3 separate regions of the Homo sapiens genome follow, and all the other regions are linked to region 2. Evidence: promoter capture Hi-C in human tissues and cell types (Jung and others, 2019). All regions are on one chromosome and are shown on one strand. Each heading gives the region's core, a stretch centred on a gene start or on the middle of the fragment in contact. The rest is flanking DNA. Distances are from core to core; before and after follow the strand shown.

What was found. Contacts are between HindIII fragments. The study calls those that stand out against the background at their distance.
Region 1: a contact is called between a fragment that was not itself captured here and the fragment with the promoter of HTRA1 in region 2, in 1 of the 25 tissues and cell types used here (hippocampus).
Region 3: a contact is called between a fragment that was not itself captured here and the fragment with the promoter of HTRA1 in region 2, in 4 of the 25 tissues and cell types used here (bladder, dorsolateral prefrontal cortex, hippocampus and 1 more).

Annotation. Positions count from the first base shown.
Region 1 is chr10:122,409,688-122,413,154 of GRCh38, forward strand. It overlaps PLEKHA1 (pleckstrin homology domain containing A1), which reads left to right. Exons shown (of 12, transcript NM_001001974.4): 6 at 3,233-3,358. Among named protein-coding and RNA genes, the nearest start is that of MIR3941, 5.5 kb to the right of the region's middle. The HindIII fragment of the contact is 5,773 bases long and covers 1-3,467 here.
Region 2 is chr10:122,459,924-122,463,069 of GRCh38, forward strand. HTRA1 (HtrA serine peptidase 1) reads left to right here and starts at 1,630. Exons shown (of 9, transcript NM_002775.5): 1 at 1,630-2,201. The coding sequence starts at 1,730. HTRA1-AS1 (HTRA1 and ARMS2 antisense RNA 1) reads right to left here and starts at 1,482. Exons shown (of 3, transcript XR_946382.3): 1 at 1,026-1,482. The HindIII fragment of the contact is 7,877 bases long and covers 1-3,146 here.
Region 3 is chr10:122,500,001-122,503,268 of GRCh38, forward strand. The region is part of intron 3 of HTRA1 (HtrA serine peptidase 1); the gene reads left to right. Among named protein-coding and RNA genes, the nearest start is that of HTRA1, 40 kb to the left of the region's middle. The HindIII fragment of the contact is 4,731 bases long and covers 1-3,268 here.

The DNA of each region.
Region 1 (3,467 bases), core at 180-2,679, 50 kb before region 2:
ATTCTCAGAAAGATTGTAAGACCCAGGAGTTTGTGTCTGCACGTTTTTATCCTCAGTGAATTGAACATTATGACAATTTCATTCTTTCTTTTTATCCTTTTTTTTTTTTTTGAGACAGAGTCTCGCTGTGTTGCCCAGGCTGGAGTACAGTGGTGCTATCCCAGCTCACTGCAGCCTCCGCCACCGGGGTTCAAGTGATTCTTGAGCCCTCAGCCTCCTAAGTAGCTGGGATTACAGGTGTGTGCCACCACAGCCAGCTAATTTTTGTACTTTTAGTAGAGACTGGGTTTCGCCATGTTGTCCAGGTTGGTTTTAAAACTCCTGGCCTCAAGTGATCCGCCCAGCTTGGCCTCCCAAAGTGCTGGGATTACAGGCGTGAGCCACCGCGCCTAGCCCAACATTATATTTTCATTCTTGGTGAATTGAATATCAACTTTCCCTTTAACTTTTGAGAAACCTGCAGCGTTTTTATGTATTTCACTCATAAATACTTAAATCTGTCTTGTTCATCTTTTTATTCTCTAGTTATTTTTACCTTTTCTTTTCCTACTATTAGAATTTCCTACTACTAGGATCACATGCAAATGCCTGCCAAGATTACATTCAGATCTCCTACAAAAAATGCTGGGACATAAAAAAGGATAGAAAGCCAAGGAAAGGGAGAGAGGCAGTAGACAAAGAAACCAAGTGGATTCAGTGTCTGACATGTGCCAACTGCCCAGTGAGATCACTTTTCTGATTTTCATTGGACAGTTGGATGGTTTGGGGCAGGGGTGTGTCCTGAAAATGTCTATCTTAATGGCTGAATTTAGACCAAGTTTTACAGAGGTACATATTGTTTTTAGAGGAGTTATCCATGTTCATGGGTATTTTGCTTGAACTTTTCTTGTTCTTAGGGAATAAGATGATTACAAGTTAGATAATTTTTATAGTAAAATGCAGTTCTAAGTTAACTACTAGCATTTGATTTTATTATAAAGACAAATTAGAAGCAGTGAGCTTAACAGCATAAGCAAGGACTTTTAATATACTGTAATTTAAGAAAAATGGAAAAACCAATATAAATTTCGGTATTTTTTAGAATGATTTTAAAGGTTTTTCCTAATAATTCCCAGGTCTGACTAAACTTCTTGAGAGAATAACTGCTAGTTTTCTTATGGGTCACCTCTTAGCAGCACCTCTCATTTTATCTAGTTGAATAGATTGTTTTCTCTCTGGTTTCAGGTTCTCTTAATGCTAGTTGCTGTTCTTCTCAATGAGATAACTGGGCCATATTTTCTCTGTCAGAATAATTGAAATATATGGTGCTATTCATTAGAAAATATAATGGGCTTCCCTAGCAAATCATTCCAGGGTATACTATCCTAATTTTATTTGACAAGGAAAATTCTCTTCATTATTTTATTGTCTTTAAAAAGCACTCCAAAGTGTGCAAGTTCTTAGAAGAATTCAAGAGGTATTCAGGATTCTCTTCTCTTTCCTGTTTTCTCTCTCTTTTGTTTCTGCGGATGAGGGCATTGTAGTATGAATACGAACCAGAGGCTGGAGGATTGGGCCTGGGGCCTGAGAGAAACCTCTTCAAGGGAGGCAGGTGGAGAAGGAAGGGAGAGGGAGTTTTAGAAGTCACTTAAGAGACAAGTCATTTATTATATCCATAAATTACATTTGTGTGGATTGGGACTTACTGTAGCTCAGCATCCTTTCATATACACATGGACCATGTTTGCTCAATATTTTGCAGAAAGCTGCTTTGCAAATCCTTATCTGCATTGTATACCCTCTTTTCTACAAATCTGGTGGGAGTAGCATCGTATGGAAGAAGAGCACAGGTTTTAGAGCAGTGTTTCTCAAAGTGTGGTTTATGAAACTCCTGCCTCAAAAATGTCTGGTGTTCTTGCTTAAAGTGCAGGTTTTTGGGCTGCACTATAGATATGTTGAGTCAGAATTTCTGGGTTCGAAGCAGGGGAATCTGAAGTTTTAAATAATGTTCCTGGGTGATACTTTATGCACTCTAAAGTTTGAGAAATCACACTGCTTTGGAATCACACTAATAAACGGTTTGAGCCTTTGAATACAATGTGAGTGGTGTCCTGTAGTTCTACCAGTACTCTATTAACAGGAATTAGCTATATGACAAGCAAACTATTTAAGTTAAATGTTTCTACACCACTACTTCAGTGATTGTCAGTAGTATTTGTCATAGTGTTTCTGAAAGACTGCAAGGTTCCACGTGCCCTTTAAATCATTGGAGAAGACTAAATCATGTTCAACATTATAATTGATGCTGAGCAGATTTTATTACATTTTATTCACAGCCTTAAAAATGTATAATTTAAATACAGACTATGTGCTAAACAGTCTACAGATAGAAATAATGATTAACTGAGTACCTTATTTACTGAATAGATCACATAAGAAAAGCAAAAATATATGTTAAAAATTTATGATACCTCTGATTCTTTCATCCACTTTAGTGAGGTGTTAATGTGAGATTCTGCTGTTACCACAGTCATTGTTTTCCTGTACTTGTGAACGATTTATCATTGATCCAAGTATTGGAATTCCTTCTTTAAATTTCTAATGAAAAGTTTTGTTTTGAAACTTCTGATTTGTTTTAAGAATTTTGCTATTCTTTTTTCTGCTGACTTTGGATTCATCCATTGAGTCTTTCAACATTTATTGAATACACTATGGTTTTGGTAATAGTCTCTGTCTTGAAGCCAGGAAAGACTGAATATGCCACAATCCCAGAATCATGGGTAGGAATGGAGAAAGGGAAGAAAACAGCAAAGAGCTGTAAGCCAATAGTAAGTGTGCCAATAAACAGGGTCTAGAGCACAGCAGTTGGGCTTGGAAGAGTTACACACACTTGGCTAGAATGTATTATAGTCAGGATCTGAATCTATATTCCCTAATGCCCCTGAGCCTATTTCCTTACCTCTTAGGTGGGGGTAGAGCCCCTATGCATAGGGTAGACAGGAGTAGTAAAGGAGAAAAATGTGTGAACTAGTACCTGCCCGAGTAAGCACTCATTACGTGATAGCTATATTATAAAATATTATTCTAACAGAAAAATTAGTGTGATAACTTAAGGAGTACATACATGGACTATAATTTTTATATGTATCTGTCAACCGTATGCAAACGGATGAATAATTAGAAATTCTGCGAGAAAACAGGTTCACATGTATAATGCTGGTTGCAAAATGATTCATTTTATTTACTATTTCAGGTACCAAAGCAGTCAGACTCACAGCCTAATTCTGATAACCTAAGTCGCCATGGTGAATGTGGGAAAAAGCAAGTGTCTTACAGAACTGATATTGTTGGTGGCGTACCCATCATTACTCCCACTCAGGTAATTAAGTAACTCTTCTATTGTGTGAGGGTCTAATTATTGTATATTGATTTTTATATTATTAAAACTAAAACAGTGCATCTTTGCTTAATTGGTATAATATACAATT
Region 2 (3,146 bases), core at 380-2,879:
GAAATTCGACAAAAATAAGTTATCACCAATTTATTCACCACCACGTGTCCTTTTAATTCCATCTGCCCCAGGACTGCAGTGGGGAGTCTTTCTTTGCCGATGGACTTCGAAAATCATCACCCCCCGCATTTTTTGTGGTTAACCACAGCTAGCCAGGAACTCAGGGCTTCTCATCAGCAGAGGCCTCTGCCTCTCCAGTATCCAGGGCCGAATGGATTTTGGGTCAAGGCCTCCCTCCCGCAGCCAGGAGGCCCTGGCTTTATGGAATATCGCTTGGAGTCCAGGGAGTCAGCATGGGGACCCCGACAGCTTTCCCATGCCCCAGGCTCCTGGGCCTTTCTGGGGGACCCCTCTGGACCTTGGGCATTAACAAGGTTCATATTTGGAAGGTGCTTTGAGGGGGCTTATAGGTATTTGGAGTTTACTTTTTAAACTATTTGTATTGGAAAAATAACGTGTGCACAAGGGAACAACCCAAATACAGAAGAATATTAAAATCCCCAAGCCCCCAGCCCCCTCCCATGCTACTCTATCCCAAAGTCAGCTCTGCCGGCTCACCCAACCCTGGGTGCCTCTGCCCAGGGTGGGGGTGGAGGTTTGAGGGTTCGGGATGAGGGCTGGACGAAGGGCCTCCTCTCAGGTCCTTGGACACGAGCTGTGCCCATCTGCTCAGTGTGGACCCAGGACTACTGCCCACAGGCCTGGTGCTGCCTGGGCACCCAGACCCACCTCCAGGGTCGCCCTCAGCCCTCCTGATGACTCTCGGACTCGCATCTGTCCCAACGGATGCACCAAAGATTCTCCAGTGGGAAATCAAATTTTTGATAACAAGTGTTTTGAAATAATCACGCACTTGGTGAAAAATCAAAAGAGGGGAAAACCCCTTTCCCATCTGAGACCGCTCCACCCTCGCCAGTTACGAGCTGCCGAGCCGCTTCCTAGGCTCTCTGCGAATACGGACACGCATGCCACCCACAACAACTTTTTAAAAGAATCAGACGTGTGAAGGATTCTATTCGAATTACTTCTGCTCTCTGCTTTTATCACTTCACTGTGGGTCTGGGCGCGGGCTTTCTGCCAGCTCCGCGGACGCTGCCTTCGTCCGGCCGCAGAGGCCCCGCGGTCAGGGTCCCGCGTGCGGGGTACCGGGGGCAGAACCAGCGCGTGACCGGGGTCCGCGGTGCCGCAACGCCCCGGGTCTGCGCAGAGGCCCCTGCAGTCCCTGCCCGGCCCAGTCCGAGCTTCCCGGGCGGGCCCCCAGTCCGGCGATTTGCAGGAACTTTCCCCGGCGCTCCCACGCGAAGCCGCCGCAGGGCCCCCTTGCAAAGTTCCATTAGTTTGAAGGACGCGAATCTCAGCGAGAGAACCTGCGGAAAGCGAATATGTGGGGCGCGCAGACGGGGAAACTGAGTCCCGCGAGAGGGCCGGCCTGTGCGCTGCCCCGCCCGCGCCCCGCCAGCACCGCCGTGCCCGGGCGCGCCCGCCCTGCCCCCTCCGCGGGCGGTCCCGGTCCAGCCGCCCGCCCTCCCTCCCGCCATCCGGCCAGCCCCCATCCCGGGCGCCGTGCCCGTCCCCAAGGCGGCTCGTCACCGCTGCGAGGCCAATGGGCTGGGCCGCGCGGCCGCGCGCACTCGCACCCGCTGCCCCCGAGGCCCTCCTGCACTCTCCCCGGCGCCGCTCTCCGGCCCTCGCCCTGTCCGCCGCCACCGCCGCCGCCGCCAGAGTCGCCATGCAGATCCCGCGCGCCGCTCTTCTCCCGCTGCTGCTGCTGCTGCTGGCGGCGCCCGCCTCGGCGCAGCTGTCCCGGGCCGGCCGCTCGGCGCCTTTGGCCGCCGGGTGCCCAGACCGCTGCGAGCCGGCGCGCTGCCCGCCGCAGCCGGAGCACTGCGAGGGCGGCCGGGCCCGGGACGCGTGCGGCTGCTGCGAGGTGTGCGGCGCGCCCGAGGGCGCCGCGTGCGGCCTGCAGGAGGGCCCGTGCGGCGAGGGGCTGCAGTGCGTGGTGCCCTTCGGGGTGCCAGCCTCGGCCACGGTGCGGCGGCGCGCGCAGGCCGGCCTCTGTGTGTGCGCCAGCAGCGAGCCGGTGTGCGGCAGCGACGCCAACACCTACGCCAACCTGTGCCAGCTGCGCGCCGCCAGCCGCCGCTCCGAGAGGCTGCACCGGCCGCCGGTCATCGTCCTGCAGCGCGGAGCCTGCGGCCAAGGTACTCCGCCGCGCTCCTGGGCAGCTCCCCACTCTCTCCATCCCAGCTCGGACCTGCTTCTGCGGGACTGGTGGGCAGGTTGAGGGGCAGCGAAGCGTTGTGGGGTGGCCAGGGCAACTCTCGGGGACAGGCAGGTGGGCCCCGGGGTGGCGGATTTCCGCGGGCTGCCTCGGAACCGAGCTTCGCGCCCAGCCCGGGGCCGGTTCTGCGCCCAGACGATGCCAGTACGCCCGGCCTGCACTCTGGGGCTCGAGACGCCGGGCGACCGGCCATGGAGTGCCCTGAGGGCAACCACACAGCGCGGGGACCCCAGGACAAATAAGAGGAATGGGGGCATAAAGGAAGGAGAGAAGTTCAGGACTGGGAATTGGCGCCTCGCAGAGCGGCTTCAGGACCACAAGAAGTCATTTCGGTTGCTTTTTCTTCTATTTACGTCCTCCGTCCCCTTTAAAATTCACTGCTTTGATCACGGGACCGCTCAGTGAAAACTGTATGTAACTCTTTTGGAAAGGAACAGTGTTTGCCGGCCCGCCCCGGAGTTTCTCCAAAAAGTCTACCCCGAGCAGGGAACGGTTTGGCACCGCTCTCGTTTCGGCGGCGTTGCTGCCTGTCTTGCTTTCCTCGTTTTGAGCCAGCCCTACAAAAATGAAAGTGGCTCCTTTTGAATAAGCTGAATCGGGCTTTGGATCACGAAATCTGCAGAGGCGGAGAAGGGACCGGGTTAGTGATGAGGAAGAAGTCTACCCCTCTGTTCCTACAGCCGCACACAGGACCTGTTCTGGCAGGGGAGACGGTGGTGATGGGGGAAGGAGTGGAATGGAGCAATGTCTAACTCTCTCGCGGGACCTTCCGGAGAGATGCTCCTCATCTTCAGGCAGAGGCCATGTGGAAAAATAATATCGAGTTCAGCAGCGGCCAGCCCCGCGTTGTAGGAACCAGACAGCG
Region 3 (3,268 bases), core at 55-2,554, 40 kb after region 2:
ACTTGGCTTATTAGGTTGAAAAAGAGTTGCCAACTTTTTCTTTGGTTTTGATGTTATTGGTTTTTTTTTATTTTTCTTTTCTCCAAGCTTCAGGGAATGAGATTGAATGAGCACTCAAGTGCTACTAGGCAGAACCCTGAATGGAAGGAAGCTGAAATACCGATGGGTCATTGCTTTTCACAGTCCTCTATGAAAGATTACTGGCCAAGCCAGCATCTGGAGAATTCTAGGAACGCCCCCTCCTCTTGCAGCAGTATAAGTTTGCGGGGATCATCTGACCCCATTGGGGAGTTGTATGAAAAAGGGGATTTATTGGGGACCCTGTTGCCTGTTTGGATCTTACTTACATTTAACTATTGTCTGCTAATGGATTTTTTGGAAAGCAACCAGGTTTTCCGTAAAGAATAGCTAATTGTCAGAGCTGAGATGACCATTGGAGATCACTGGGCTCAACTCCCTAATTTTAGAGGTGCTAAAACCGCAATCCAGAGAAGCTAATCAAGTGGTTCAAGGTTGTAGACTGAGTTCATATAGGACCAAGACCCAGCCCAGATGTCCTACTGTCTGGGACAGTGTTCTCTCAGCATACGTGGAGCCTGAGGGGGTAATGTGTGTGCGTGTGTGTGCATGTATGCATATACACATAGGTGTTTTGCCTAAGTTTTCACTTCTGCCCCACCTTGGTTGATCTTGGAGAATGAGCCTGAGGCGCGCTGTCAACCTGGGGGCCTCATTCAGCACAGGCCCAACTTTTCTGCCCTGGGGGAGTTCCAGCAGTTATGGTTCATCTGTGGTTCAGTTATGGAACTCACACCACACATAGTGCCCCCAAAACCGAGGCTGCGTGCACAGACCTCCCCTCCCTTCCCGTGGTGGGCCCCTGCTTGGGTTCTTCCTAAACTTCCCCTTTGCCCTGCTCTGTGTTATACCCTCTCTGGTCCCCTGTCCCTGTGGAGTGATCCGGGGCACAAGGGCAGCTGTTTCCCCGCTGACCTCTGTGTGCCCTGAGCATCTGGGAGGTGGGGAGCAGGCTGGTGAGAAGAACACCTGGAGTGGAGGTTGGGGTCAGGGAGGGTCCCAGTCCCGGTACCACCCCCACCTGCTGTGGGACCTGCAGTCCCCTCATCAGCAGAACGGCTATGAAGCCATCCTGCCCATCCACAGGGTGGTGGGTCGTGAAGGCTGCATACCTGGCAGAGCGGGAGAAGCTCTGGGAAGATGCCGGACACGCGCCGTGGGAGTGATTTCCCTGCCTTGCCCAGATTCTGCTCCCATCACCTGAACCTGCCTGTCACCACCATGGAACTGCTGTGACCATTGCTTTCCTTTTAAGCAGATTAGCAGACATCTCCTGCTCCACCCTGCCAAACAAACAAACAAACAAGCAAACAAACAAACAAAAATGTGCATGAGGGAGTATGGACTTGTAGAGTCTTTTCTAAACATTGTTAGGTGCTTGTATTGGGATCCTCTCTTAAAATGAACCATATTCCCCAGGCTTTGGATGACACTCATGGTTGCCCACCCTCCAACTTCCTTCCCTGCTGGCAGAGCCCTGGGTTTGTTTTAGTTCCAACCCTGACCCCACCGCATTCCTGACTCAGGCAAATTCGCAGGGTCCAATGCAGTCAGGGGAGCCACGTTCCCTCCTCCAACGAGTGCTGAGGTCGCTGCTTGATTGGATACTGCCGATGACCTACGAGGAGGAGGGTGCCAGGGCGCTTTTGGGACTTTGCTTTTCTGGAGAGATGCTTCCACAGCATGGTCATGGACACAGTCACGTCTTGATGTGATGTCTGGAATGGTGGTGGCCGTCTTGTGGCTGTGAGAACAGGCTGAGGTTGATTGGATGGAGGGAAGGAAGGAGCCTTGTTCTTGATGCTGTCTGTGAGCCTTTGAGTTATCAGCCTGGTACCACCCAGCCCTTGGACAGATATCTACTCTACATACTCCATTTGGAGTTTTTTTTTTTTTTTTTTTTTTTTTTTTTTTTTGTCACTTGCAGTTGAAAACACCCTAATTGATACACACAAACTATTTTTAGTGCTGGTCTGTGTTTGGCCCTTATGGAAGACTCTGGGCTGAGCTGCCCATGGTGAGGGAGGTGGACTTTGTGTTTTCTTACTGCTCTGTGTCCTGGTGGCTTGTTTGTGTCTCTGCCCATGAGACAAAAGCCGAGAGGGCAAGGGCAGATTTTCTTAATCATATGTTCCCTGCACCAAGCTCATAGGAGACACTCACTGAATGGTTGTTGAGAGAGTTCTCTTTCACGGAGGCAATGTTTTGTGAAACGATGCTGCTTGTTGTTGTCTGTTGGTTGTAATATGCATGAACACTAAGAGCCATCTTTAATCATGCTGTGGGCCGCCTCTTCCAAGGTGTTAGCATTACTCCCACTACCTGGTCAGCATCCTGCCTATGGCTAGGACTTTGCAATTTACATAGATATGGTGGGGAGACCTGGAGCCCATGGCCAGGACTCTGACACCCTCACTGGATCTGTTTCTACATCTACCTGGATGGCCGTCTAGGACATTAGAGGATTTGTGTCTTCCTAAAGTCCCTCTGTTGAGAGACTTCTGGCTCTGTTAAGAGGACACTATTTAGCATTGTGAGTCCCTGCAGGCTGGGGGCCAGTGGGCGTTTTTCTTCTAGATGCCCCCTCTCTTCTTCTGGCCTCCCAGGCTTCCTGCTCCTGAGATTGTGAGAACTGGCCTGTGCTGGGCTCACTGCAGAAAGACTGTCGTCCCCAAAGGTTTTGCACCAAACTTGAGCTACAAGATCTTTTAGGGGGACCTGAGATCTCCGCCTGGGCTCTATGAGAGCAGGCATGGGTTGTTTTTGCCCCGTCACTGCAGTCATGCCCACACTTGCATTTTCTTTTCCCCCCAGCAGTGTGAGGATCTGGCATGAGGAGTGGGACTCGCGTGCCCTCTTTCTTCTCCTCTTCCCTCTGGCCTTTTCATCCGTCAGTGGGGGACAGATGTTTGCCCTGTTTACTTCTAGGCTTACTGTGGGGCTCCAGGGAGATGGTGAAGTGGCCAAGGAGAGGAGCTGCCACCTTCAAGACGGCCTGTGGCCGGTGCCGCTTTAAAGGGAGACTCAGAGGTGCTTTGCTGTGGGTGGCGCGGGAACCAGCCTGGGGACAGCAGTGCAGAGGCCTTGGACTCAGAGTGCGTGGGCCCCGCGGGGCTTCACGGCGCCTGTGGCTGTGCACTTCCAGCCATATCTGTGCTGCATCTCTTCCACATTCCCCCATGGAGCTGAT